Regions from separate parts of the Homo sapiens genome. Here region 1 is linked to region 2. The links are contacts of gene promoters, found by promoter capture Hi-C in blood cells and fetal thymus (Javierre and others, 2016). All regions are on one chromosome and are shown on one strand. Each heading gives the region's core, a stretch centred on a gene start or on the middle of the fragment in contact. The rest is flanking DNA. Distances are from core to core; before and after follow the strand shown. Region 1 overlaps RRS1-DT (RRS1 divergent transcript). Region 2 holds the start of LINC00967 (long intergenic non-protein coding RNA 967).

Region 1 (6,694 bases), core at 2,859-5,358, 230 kb after region 2:
GAGGAAAAGGGTGGAAGGAGAACTGAGCAGAGGGAGAAATCACACTGTGATGTGGCCTGACAAGGCCTCAGCCAACCCAGCAGGGAGCTCAGAGGAAAGAGTAACCTTTCAGAGTGTCCTGCACTGGGCTGAAACGGGTGGCCAGGTCTGTCTATCCCTGCCACGCTCAGTTGCAGAAGGCAGGTATTCCATAGAACATGAGTTCAGGGGAAGCAGTTCTCTGCAGCTGAGACAGATCTGAAAAGAGCTGACAGGTAGAGGCTGTGTGATGGTCACAGTCCTCCCCATCTGGACAGGAAGTGCCTCCTGGAAGAGGGATCTGGGAGGCACATCTCTGCATCTAACATAGGAGTAATCTACATGGAATGACAATTCAACTGACAGATTTTTTAGCAGCAGCAAGAAAACAAAACAAAATAAAACAAAAGATAATGGGATAATATCCTCAAAGAACTGAAAAAAAACAAAAAACAAAAAAGAAAAACTGGCAGCCTGGATTTCAAATCCAGCCAACTTACCATTCAACAGTGAGGGTGAAATAAAGCCACAGGAACAAAGACTACAAGTGTTTACTACTAATTGACCCTCACCAACAAAACTACTAAAAGATGTGTTTCAGGAAGAAGGAAAATGAACCAAAAAGGAAGGGCCGAAATGTAAGGAGTGATGAGCAAAGAAATATATAACCATATGTCCAAATTTCACTATATAAAATAGTGTTTTGAAGATGATTAATCTGTAGTGCCTAAAAACAAGATGGAACTAAAACTCAGGAAAATAGTAGTGTTTATGAAAAAGAGTGTCGTCAGAGTTAAACCATTCAAAAATTCATATATTTGATAGGAGAAGGGTAAAGTTGTTTAACTTTAGATTTAAGTCAATTATGCTGTCAACACTTAAAGGATCACCCCAGAAGGATAGAAATTTCCAAACCATAGGAAGTTAAGGTTAAAATGTAAAAGAAAACTCAAGCGAGCTATTAAAATGTAGGAGCAGAGGAAAAAATAGAAATAGAAAAGTCCAGGTAGACAGATAGCACAAAATAAGATAGAAATAAATTCAATACATCAGTAATTACAATAAATATAATCTAACTGTATTAATTAAAAGTCAGATATTGGCAGTTTTCATATAAAAAACAAATCAACAACAAAATTCAGATATATATTGCTTAAAGAGACATATAGCTAAAGCAAAAGGATGCAAAGAGGTTGGAAACAAAAAAATGAAAAAAGATGTACCAGGTACACACTAACCAAGAACAATATAGCTATAGTGTCATTGAAAGCATTTTCAGGAATAAAGATGTTCGCTATGTTATAATAAAAAGATAAAAGGAAAACACCACCAGGAAGATTCAGCAATTCAAAATGTTATGCTTTTAATATTAGAGCATCAAATACAGAATGGGAATTTATAATCAAAGTAGAAAGTTTCAACACATCTTTCAGTAACTGATAGATCAAGAAAACACAAAATTAGTAAGAACATGGAAGATTTAAATAATAAAGTTAAGAAAATACCATTGTGGTTATGTCTTCACTGGTCTAAAACCTTCCATGACTCCCTATTGCCTATAGCATCAAATTGAAATTCTTCTTCTTGATCCTAAAGTTGCACCACAGTTGGCACCATCCTGACCATTTGCCAAGCCTATTTCTTACCTGTCCCCAATACAAATCATCTATTCTAGGCAAATCAAATTGCTAGTGAACCAGAAAGAAGAAGCTTTATGATGTAGTGTTTATGTGCATGGACTCTGAGATCGGACTGCAAAGGTTCAAATCCTGATTCTACAAACTATTAACTGCATAGTAACTTAATAACTTAATCTTTATGACCCTCAGTCTTCTCATCTATAAGATGAGGATATTGATAACATCTACCTCTTAGGCCTGTTGTGGGATTTATAAAGACAATCAGTGACTGACATATTATACTTGCCATAAGAATTAGCTACATCCCTTTATTCATATTGTTACCATCTACTGGAATGCTCCTTTCCTTCTCCTATCTATTAAAACTCAGGCTCCAAAGCCAACTCAGGAACTTCCTCTTTCATAAAGCCTTCACCAGTTACTCCCTCCAGCCTTCATTTATCTCCCTCTCCTACAATACAGTAGTTCTTAACCTTGTGAAAGAGGGATAGGGAGTCACAGATGCCACTGAGAATCTGATGGGAAAAAATCTTCTATTCATAAAAATGCACATGCATACACACATTTGCATAAAACTTCAAGGGATTCATGTCCCTCTGAAGCTCACCCATGGAACCCCAATTACAAACATCTGACTTCAAGTCTATGCTTCACCATCACCTACCCTGTTCTCCTGAGGCCATCTTAACAAAAGTACGGACAGCTAACAAGGAGCTGGAAGAGGCACAGAGAGAAGCTGGTGAAGCTCACTTCATACATAAGGAAATTCACAGAGAGATAAAGTGACTGGCCAAAGCCATATACAACTATGGAGTGACAGAGATGGAGCTGGAGGCTGTCTCCTGACTACCCCTATAGAGTTCTTTGCAAGTGTGCTTGATGAACTAATCTCCAACTCACAGAACTCTAAAACTAAGAAATCATGTTAGCCCATTTTTCAGGTGGGGTGATGATCCCTTAGGGAATTTGTCTCCAGGTAATCAGGCCAAAAGTCCCAAGACTCATACTCAGAATAATAATTACTAAACATACTAGTAGTGTTTGGTTTTTGTTTTCTTTTACTTTACTTCCTTGTATTAACATTTCCTCACTAACTTTCTCTGAAGCAATATCAAACTAGGAAGCACAAACCTGTCCCAATGTTATTATTTGGGGAAGGTAATTTTGAAGCTGTCTTTAAAACTTGTCTGTAACTGTAACAATCAAAGGACATCATCAGTTCTAGATCTTGAGCTAGAAAAGAGATAGTCAATCCACAATCTTTCCATTCTCAGATTCAACTTTATAAACATAAATATTTTATAAATATCTCCTCTATCTTCTTCTCTATGACATTTTTCCAGAACAAGTAACAAACAATAAAATGGACTATACGCTGCCCATTCTCTCTTTAAGGGCAAGCAAAGAAAAAAGAAAAGAATTACAAATAAGCTATGAAACACAATAATCAGCCTCCACATAATTAAAAACTGATTGACATCTGTATAGTCACAGACTCCTTGTGCACACAGGAAGCTGTTTCACTAAGTGAAATCATACAATCAGCCTAGGAAATGAGATAAATGACTCAGAAAGAGGGGGAGGTTTGTAAAATGAGATATACTGGAAAAAACTTTAATCAACAACTAGGAAAGAAAGCACTTTATAAGAAAACAACATTGGAGCACCTGAAGTATGTAGGTTTGAAACAAAAGAAAAGGATCATAGAGATGAATTGCAAAGGCCACCTCTTCAAAACCCTTCATTCTCAAGATAAATAAGGGGAAGCCTGAGACCTAAACTTTGTTTCCTTTGAAATTCACAGGCTTTCCAGGGAAGAAAATCCAGGATACACCATAAGAAGTCAGCTTCCTCAGCTAAAAATTCACAGTATTTTGGATAATGAGGCAAGGGAAATAAACATTAGGAAATGCAAGGAACATTATTTATACATTCTAAATAAGTCCTATTTAGGCCTGGGGGAAAGCACCTATGCTACAAGCAACTGAATCTTCTGCATCCCCAAGCGGCCCAGGGAGCTGACAAGACTGGTGCACTCTCAGTGGCTGACAAGTACACAGTGACACCTACTTGCCACTAAGAGGTTCTTTCCTTTGCTGTCTTCCTTTGGCAAATAAAAACACTTCAAAAAGGAAAAGTGTAGGCTACAGAACTGACCACATATGTGGTCAGAGTTTTGGTTTTTCTATCCATTGTTTTCACTTTTCACGGATGTGTTCTAAAAAATAATGGGTTAATAATGTTTAGAAATAATTCATGGTTAAGAAGGGCCAGGAATTTGTGTTTATTCGGCATAATCACAACTTCATAACTTCCCTGTGTATTCTTAATATTGCTCTAGTGGGAAGTTTAAAAGAAAGATTTGATTGGCAGTCACTTCATTTAGAAAGGATTGATATTTCATACATGGTCTATGACTACAAAGGCAAATTGAAGGCTGCATGGCAACAAGGTTGCTTTCCTTAGGGGAAAGGTATTCCGGACTCAGCTGCCTCGTCTGGAGTAAATCTACTCTAAAGCAATTTACAAAAACTGTTCAGGTGTTACTGATTAATAAAAACCTAAAAGGATTTTTTACTCATTGTAACTTTAAATTCATAAATTAAAATGTAATTAAAATGATAGATTAATAAGCAGATCTAAATATTCTGTTATTAGATTCTTTGAGTGCAAATATCCCTAAAATTCTGGAAATTCAGCTTTCCATTTTATATCAGTCTTTCATCCATGTAGCTGATCTGCTTATAGAAGTAAAATCTAAAGACCAATACCAATCTCATTCTCTTAGGATACAATGATGATGTTTTATGAATAAAAACTATCAGCTAGTGGTGCTTACTTACAGGTGGTAATAAGATTGTGGCAAATGCAAAAAGCTGCATCTAGCAATTTTTGGAAAATAAAAACCATTGTGTCTTTTACAGCATTGGAGCTCAGAAAAACAATGCCCCAAAGTAAGGTGCTTTGATATGCTGAGTACTTTGAGCCGAAGGATACTGGAAGGACCCTAGAAACAAAGTCTCTCTCTGGGCTTCTCCTGCCCTCCTGTCTCCTGGTCCCCCTTCTACCCTAAGGCAGGCCATAGAAATCAGAATTCCTCTGCCCCACAGTGGGTCATAGAAACTAAACATATTTCTCTCAACTTCCATTGCCTTTCTGCATATGAGCTGGCCATAAAGAAATTCTCTGGTCTACCTTGTCTGATAGTAGATCATAAAACCCTTATTCCAGAAGGGGTCCTGCTCTATACCAGGGAGGAAGGAATGCCACACAGAGAGGCCAAGAAGAATCCAAATAGTCAGGCCTTGCTGGGTTGTTCCCCTTCAATCTATTACATTAGATTATTTCCTTTTTGTCCAATCCCATTTTTACATGGTTGTCCACTCCTCATTGAATCTAAGCATAAAAATGGACAGTTTTCCCTTGGGTCTTTGAGTCTTCATTGTGAATGCTTCCGTGTCACGCAAAATTCTGACTGAATAAATTTGCCGTGCTTTTGTCTTGTTAACCTGTCTTTCATTATAGGAGTGTCAACCATGACAACCCCCCTCCTTTTTCTTTCTTTCTTTCTTTTTTTTTGAAATGCTCCATTGGCCAGGCTGCAGTGCAGTGGCCCAATCTCGGCTCACTGCAACCTCCAACCTCCCAGGTTCAAGCGATTCTCCTGCCTCAGTTTCCCAAGTAGCTGGGATTACAGGCGCCCGCCACCACGACTGGCTAATTTTTGTATTTTTAGTAGAGAAAGGGTTTCGCCATGTTAGCCAGGCTGGTCTCAAACTCCTGACCTCAGGTGATCTGCCCACCTCGGCCTCCCAAAGTGCTGGGATTATAGGCATGAGCCACCACTCCCGGCAGCCATGACCCTTTTGAGGGCTGAGGAAAGGTATCACAGCATTTTCACCCTGCAACAGAGACCAAAACAACTTAAATCAGTTCCAAAAGTCTACCATCAATTTTACTATCCTAAAATCCAAAGTTCTTTATAGGTGAATGTACAATATTTCGTCGTTTTTCTATCTGCTTCTACATTAACTACACAAAATGCTGTATCTTCTTTGTTCCTCTTTAAAATAAAATAATAAACTTTTAGTACAGGTTTCTCACTAAGACTGAAATACATAAATACAAGTTTTGTCTATGATTAAGAAATTTTTTTCTTTTAAGTACTTCCAAATTAAAATCTCAAATCAGTAAAAATGAGCCATGTGGAAATAATGTAAGCATTTCAAGGGCCCTTTTCTCCTATTTTATCAAATTACTGGCACACTGAATTTCCTAGACAAAAATACTTTTATAAACTATGCTCACAGCAGGATTAAAGAATGGTTGAATCATCCCTAACAATTTCCGCTACCAAAAAGAGGCAACTGAAAAAACAGACATTTAGAAAGTAAATCCAAGTTAATGTGGCATCAAAGAATGAAAAGGAAATTTCTTACAAAAATGTTTTACTGACCAAAGTAGTTATGTTTTGAGGGAACATGAAAGGTATTGCTTTCATGGCTTTAACCTTCTTATTCCTGCTTTGGGAAAAACTCTCCCTTCCAGGTTCACTTTACAATAATTGCTGCTTTTTCTGCCCTGCACCTCACCTCACTTTTCCCTTTCTTGAGGAATGTTCTTAAGGCTCTAGAGAGAGCTAAGATAGAAAATAAGAGTGGGAAAGAAATACTTGGAAAACAAGCATAAGGAGGACTATCATGACATGTGACTACAAAAAAAGTTGCTTGGGGCCAGATCATAAACATCCAAGACCAAGAATAGTCATTATTTCATTAAGGAGAAAGGAGGGTCTTTGAGAAGAGTGATTTGGCCAGATGCACAAAAGGTAAAGCTTCAGGACTGCCCTGAAAAGAGTATGGAAGCAGGAAATGTTGGGATGCTCCTAGGATGGTTCCCAGGATATCAGTCAGGGCAGCAAACAGGCAGTGGTCAAGCTGGGTAATTTAAGAAAGATAAACAAAGAATACTTGCAGAGATGTGGGCAGTTTAAGGAAACTGACAATAACGGTAGTGCTGCATTAGCAGAGAACTAT
Region 2 (6,565 bases), core at 1,253-3,752:
GCAGAAAGTAGACAGTTCTGAGAGATTCTTTCTCCCCACCCCATACCACCCCTCCCTTTAGTTTTCCCCTATTATTAACATCTTGCATTTGTTTCAATTGATGAGCCAATATTGATGCATTATTATTAACTAAAGCCCATGGTTTCCATTAGGGTTCACTGTTGGCATTTTATATTCTGTGAGCTTTGACAAATGCATTGTCTCATGTATCCACCATTACAGTATCATACAGAAGAGTTTCACTGCCCTAACTGTCCCCTGCACTTCCCCTATTCATCCCTTCCTCCCTTCAGCCCCTGCCAACCTTTCATCCTTTTAGTTTCTGTAATTTTGCTTTTTTCCAGAAAGACATGCAGTTGGAATCACACAGTATGGAGCCTTTTCTGACTGTTTTTTTTTCACTTACACAATATATATTTTATGTGTAAGTTCCTCCATGTTTATTCAAACAAAGCTATGTTTTTACTTAGGAATAAGGCCATTGCTATGGGAATTATCCATTTGGCTAATGTTTCTCTTCTTAGTAAATGCTCACTTAAGAACTAGTTCCTTGTTGAAACCCCTATTCTTAGTCTAATTCATTAATTTAACTGAAAACAGGTACACTTAAAGGGGAATTTTGCATCTTAAGGAGAGGTTAAAAACAATGATTAAAAATGATTAGTAATTAAGTAATTAGTAATTGGTAATGAACTGCTAATTAAAAGTAAAATTCAAGAGTATATGTATACCTTTTTCCTTTCATGATTAATAAGTCCATCATCACTTCCTGGTGGGAGCCTTGATTATACCACAGGCTGTTAGGGACCTGTCAGATTCTCCTAAGGTAACATGAGTTATTACTCATAGCAAACTGGCTGGAAATTCTTTTTTTATTATTACAATTATCTATAACTTAATTGCTTCTGGATGACCTTACTATCACTCCATTCTTGGTCTCTCTTTCTAAGGTCAGGGTAATAGAAAAGAATTATTCATCATAAGTTTTAAAACTCCCCTTTTACTAATCTTGTCTGTCTCCCTGATTGGATCTCTGGAGGATCCTCTTTTTCTCCAGCTTGAGATATGGGGGGAACCCACCCCCAGTATTTCAACGTAGGTTCTTTCTATTTTGCATAAGTGTCAGTCAGCTGAGAAATAAAGAGAAAGAGTACAAAGAGAGGAATTTTACAGCTGGGCTGCCAGGGGTGACATCACATATCGGTAGGACCATGATGCCTGCCTGAGGCTCAAACCAGCAAGTTTTTGTTAAGGATTTCAAAAGGGGAGAGGGTGTAAAACAGTGAGTAGGCACAAAGATCATGTGCTTCAAAGGTCAAAAAGCAAAACAAAGATCACATGCTTCTGAGGGAACAGGACAAAGGCAAAGCAGAACTACTGATAAGGGTCTATGTTCAGCTATGCACGTGTTGCCTTGATAAACATCTTAAACAACAGAAAACAGGGTTAGAGAGCAGAGAACTGGTCTGACCACAAATTTACCAGGGCAGAGATTTTCCCCACCCTAATAAGCCTGAGGGTACTGCAGGAGACCAGGATATACCTCAGTCCTTATCTCAACAGCATAAGACAGACACTCCCAGAGCGGCCATTTATAGACTGCCCCCCAGGAATGCATTCCTTTCCCAGGGTATTAATATTAATATTCCTTGCTAGGAAAAGAATTTAGTGATACCTCTCCTACTTGCACATCCATTTATAGGCTCTCTGCAAGAAGAAAAATATGGCTGTTTTTGCCCAACCCCGCAGGCAGTCAGACCTCATGGTTGTCTTCCCTTGTTCCCTAAAAGTCACTGTTATTCTGTTCTTTTTCAAGGTGCACTGATTTCATATTCAAACACTCATGTTTTACAATCAATTTATACAGTTAACACAATTATCACAGTGGTCCTGAGATGACGTACATCCTTAGCTTACGAAGATAACAGGATTAAGAGATTAAAATAAAGACAGGCATAAGAAATTATAAAAGTATTATTTAGGAACTGATAAATGTCCATGAAATCTTCACAATTTATGTTCCTCTGCTGTGGCTCCAGCTGGTCCCTCCATTCAGGGTCCCTGACTTCCTGCAACAAGGAGATGGGGACAGCACAGATACAGCTGTCTTCATGCCTTCCCAGGAGGCCAGCCCCAGATGAGCAGGCCTCTTCCAGACTTAATTTCCTTGATAATTTTGTGTTCATCTTGTTCCACTAGATACTCTAAGATACAGTTTCTTCTGCAGCCCTTCAGCCTTCCCTCTCAGCTTTTTAAAGTTTATACCCTTCAAGCACTTACAAACAGTATGTCACTCCACTGGTCTTAGTTTAGAAAATGCACAGATATATTTACTTGGCTTTTGGAGTGCTTTTTAAAAAGCCACCTTCCTGGGCCCTTGAACTCTTCATGGACGGGGGAAAGAGAAGTTTCTTCACCAAACTGCCTGAGGCTGGGTGGTTTGGATTTCTTTAAAAGAGCTGTTGTTTCCTTCCTGCTGTCATTTCTGCATCTAATCATGGAGGCAGCTCCTGATCAAAGAGCATTGTACTGGTGAGGCACTCATTCTCCCACATATGGGCTGACCCCCTGGTGCTGAGTGAGTGAGGTGAGCCTGGTCAGAATGGGGTTGGGGGCACCAAGAAAGAGATAGCTCAATGTAGGGCCCTTGTGTCCATGCAAGTTTCATTCACATCCCCAAAGCAGTGTCAAGCCCCTGAAGCCACATCAACTCTCCAATACTAAGCCCCTAGGTTCTTTGAGCAAAGTAGTTGACTAAGAACCAAGAAGAAGATGAAGAATAAACATTAACAATGGCTGAAAATTGAGGTTTTAGGTTTTTTACGAAATACAAAAATGCCAATCACATTTGTATCTGCTGGGGTTTTATCAGAAATCTTCCAGGGGAACTGTGATGGTTAATATTGAGTGTCAACTTGATTGGATTGAAGGATGCAAAGTATTGTTCCTGAGTGTGTTTGTGAGGGTGTTGCCAAAGGAGGTAACATTTGAGTCAGTGCACTGGGAGAGGCTAACCTACCCTCAATCTGGTTGGGCACCATCTAATCAGCTGCCAGTGTGGCTAGAATAAAAGCTGGCCGAAGTTGGAAAATAAGATAAGAACACGTGTTGAGTCTGCCGGCCTTCACTTTTCCCCTGTGCTGGATGCCTTCTGCCCTTGAATATCAGACTCCAAGTTCTTCAGCTTTTGGACTCTTGGACTTACACCAGTGTTTTGCCAGGGGCTCTTAGATCTTCGGCCACAGACTGAAGGCTGCACTGTCAGCTTCCCTACTTTTGAGGTTTTTGGACTCAGACTGGCTTCCTTGCTGCTCAGCTTGCAGACGGCCTATTGTGGGACTTCACCTTGTGATCATGTGAGTCAATACTCCTTCATAAACTCCCCTTCATGTACACATCTGTCCTATTAGTTCTGTGCCTCTAGAGAACCCTGACCAATACAGGAACTAAAAGGGGCTAAGCAGTTCTCAGAACTAACCACTGAGACTTTTCCTCTGGGAACTCTGGGGCACTACAGCTCCTTCTCTTTTGGTCAAAAAAAGTGCAATCATGGCTTCTCTTGTTTATGATTCTTCTAGAAGTTTTATGTCTTTTCTTTCTTTCTTTTTTTTTTTTTCTCTCATCCTCTCTCTTGGAACTCTGCTAGGAAGTAGAAGTGATTATCCACATTCCATAGAAGAAGAAGCGGAGCTCAGAATGGGTAAGTAACTTGGCTGATGTCTCCCAGCTGATATGTGGAGGGGTGTTGGGGTTCCCAAAGAGCCCCTCCTTTCCCTTTCTCTCCTCCTTCTCAATCTGGGGAGGGGTGGGACAGTATCACATGGTTGTGAAGGGAGAACCCCATATGTATGCCATGCTACCAGCTTGCCTCTTCCCTCAGCACTGACTACAAGGTGTGATCATGAGGAATATTCACCGTTTATGCTCATATTGTTCAAGAGAAGACTAAACCAGCAGGCTCAGCCAGAGCATCCCTGGAAACTTACCTGAGCATTATCCATAGTAATTCTTCTGTTTGCTGCTGGGTTTCCTTCATCAATTTTAATCCTTACACCTCTTCTGTAAAAACCATGCTCAACATCCATTCTGTCCATCCTTAGTGGGGCCATTCCCAGGAGCAATGGTTACAACCTACTAACAAATGTGCTTATGCAGATCCTCAAAATAGAGCCAAACCTCCCCACATCTTAGGGCCTGGGAAAGATTTGCACTTTCTCGTTCTATAATGGATGTTATAAGTTGATGTTGATGCCTCACATCAGTTTCCAAATTAATATTTGCTATATGGAGCCTTGCTAATTAATATGAATCTTTGATGAAGTTTCAGATCAGCTATTTGAAATGGGAGGAAGGTAGAAAGCAACTTGCAAATTCTGTGCATAATGAGGTGAGGAACAAGCTCACATAATGAAGTAAACAATTAGGCAACATTTGCATGATTCTTTTTCTTCCAACACAAGACAAGACACAGGGAGCTGATTAGCATTCTGCCTTTGCTGTGAGTCTTGCTTCTTATTTCTCCACCATTTGGGAGGATTCTCAAAGCCAAGCACAGGTAACACTGTTTTGCCAAAATTTTCTTATATTATCCAAGGGACTGCCAGGCAGCAAAGGTTACCCTGCCAAAGTCAACCTGACACAGGTGACTTCTGTTTCTGTAACTTTTCCCTCAGCTGATACACTTGTATCCAGAGAAAGGCCCCAATTTAGGTTCTGACCTCTGAATGCCAACCAGCCAGAGAGTACTGAAAACAGTTATTACTCAACCCCAACATTTACTGAGCGTCTACTATGCCCTAGAGCCTGTGCTAGAGGTGAAGATAAAAATGAATAGGTGAATGTCCTGCTGCCTTTGAGGTATCCTCTGCCCACTGGAGGAAGAAGCATTAAAGACAACATTTATGGTGAGCACTCTGCAGGTACAGAGGAGGGAATCTACCTCTGGTCGGGGAAGGAGGAAGGGTTCGAGAAAAGCTCCCAGAGGAGGCAATGCCTGCCATGAGACTGGAAAGAGGATCAGGAGCTGGCCAACGAGCAGCAGAACGGGGCTCATTCTAGACAGAGTGCTCCCAACATAAGCAAAGCTGTGAGGAAGTTCCCAGTGTTCCAGAAACTACAAGTGGTTTCCTAGAGAGTATGAAGTTGTGCACACAGGAAAGCTCTCACAGGTAAAGCTAGACATGTCAGCAAAGGCCTGCTCCTGAACCTGAGATGTGGTTCTTGGTGGACAGAGTCAATGAGGGCTTTTAACAGGGAAAATACATGGGAGGATGTATATTTTAGAGAACACACTCAAGCTTGTTGGGCTAGATGGACATGTCAAATAAAGATGATAATGAGCATATTGGGTGTCCACTGTGTGCCAGGTACAATGCTGGGATGGCAAGGACACAGACACCAGTCAGAAATCTTCCAACTAAGGTGGGTCCGCTGGGAGCAGCCCAAGGTGCCAAAGAAGCTGTCAAACAGCTTGATGAACAGACCCGTGCCTTCCCAGATCCAGATCCCAGCTCTATGGGTTATTAGTTATGTGGCTACGTAGCTCATGGAACTTCTCTGTGTCTCAGTTTCTTCATTAGTGAAATGAGGAAAACAGGACCTACCTCATAGAGGTATTGCTGTGAGGATTAAATGCGTAGATGTACGTGATGTCCTTACTTTGGCTTCTGGAAAAGTTAAGTGATTTCTAAGTGCAGTTCACATTATCTGAACAATGGTAAGGACTGAAGACAGAGCAAGAACATCAAGGCATGTTAAGAACAAGAGGTATCAGGGGAACCCGCTCCCAATATTTCAACATAGGTTCTTTCTATTTTCCATAAGTGTCAGTTGGCTGAGAAATAAAGAGAAAGAGTACAAAGAGAGGAATTTTACAGCTGGGCCGCCAGGGGTGACATCACATATCAGTAGGACTGTGATGCCCGCCTGAGTCTCAGAGGAGCGAGTTTTTATTAAGGGTTTTAAAAGGGAAGGGGATGTAAGAACAGGGAGTAGGTACAAAGATCACATGCTTCAAAGGGCAAAAAGCAGAGCTACTAATAAGTGTCTAACAAAGATCACAGGGCAAAGAGCAAAAGCAGAACCACTGATAATGGTCTATGTTCAGCAGTGCACGTATTGTCTTGATAAACATCTTAAACAACAGAAAACAGAGATCAAGAGCAGAGAACTGGTCTGACCACAAATTTACCAGGGTGGAATTTTTCCCCACCCTAATAAGCCTGAGGGTACTGCAGGAGACCAGGGCATATCTCAGTCCTTATCTCAACTGCATAAGACAGACATACTACAGACTATACTACAGATATTCTACAGACTATACTGAAGGAGACAGGCTGGTGGAATCCAGTGCTTCCGTAAGAGTTAAGCACTTTGTAACTACAATTGTCATTATCTGAACTAAGGTAAGGGCTGGAGGCAGAGCCAGAGCTTCAAGAAGGAATTGGCTAACACAAAAGCAAGAACATGGATTCTTCTGAGAAGTAAAGAAAGATGTTTCCCAAAAGCAAGCACTTTGTAGGTGGCGATGTGTTGATGTGCTGGGTCTGATAAAAAGTGATCCCAA

What was found. The method cuts DNA at HindIII sites, captures the fragments that hold promoters and counts their contacts. A CHiCAGO score of 5 or more calls a contact.
Region 1: a fragment that was not itself captured here is called in contact with the fragment with the promoter of LINC00967 in region 2 in 1 of 17 cell types (M2 macrophages); the score reaches 5.1 in M2 macrophages.

What each region holds. Positions count from the first base shown.
Region 1 is chr8:66,418,223-66,424,916 of GRCh38, forward strand. It overlaps RRS1-DT (RRS1 divergent transcript), which reads right to left. Exons shown (of 3, transcript NR_040434.1): 3 at 1,365-5,560. All of the region lies in intron 1 of LOC102724687 (a long non-coding RNA gene), which reads right to left. Among named protein-coding and RNA genes, the nearest start is that of RRS1-DT, 7.4 kb to the right of the region's middle. The HindIII fragment of the contact is 4,764 bases long and covers 1,727-6,490 here.
Region 2 is chr8:66,189,612-66,196,176 of GRCh38, forward strand. It overlaps LINC00967 (long intergenic non-protein coding RNA 967), which reads left to right and starts at 2,503. Exons shown (of 3, transcript NR_039979.1): 1 at 2,503-3,356; 2 at 3,647-3,700. The HindIII fragment of the contact is 5,384 bases long and covers 1-5,295 here.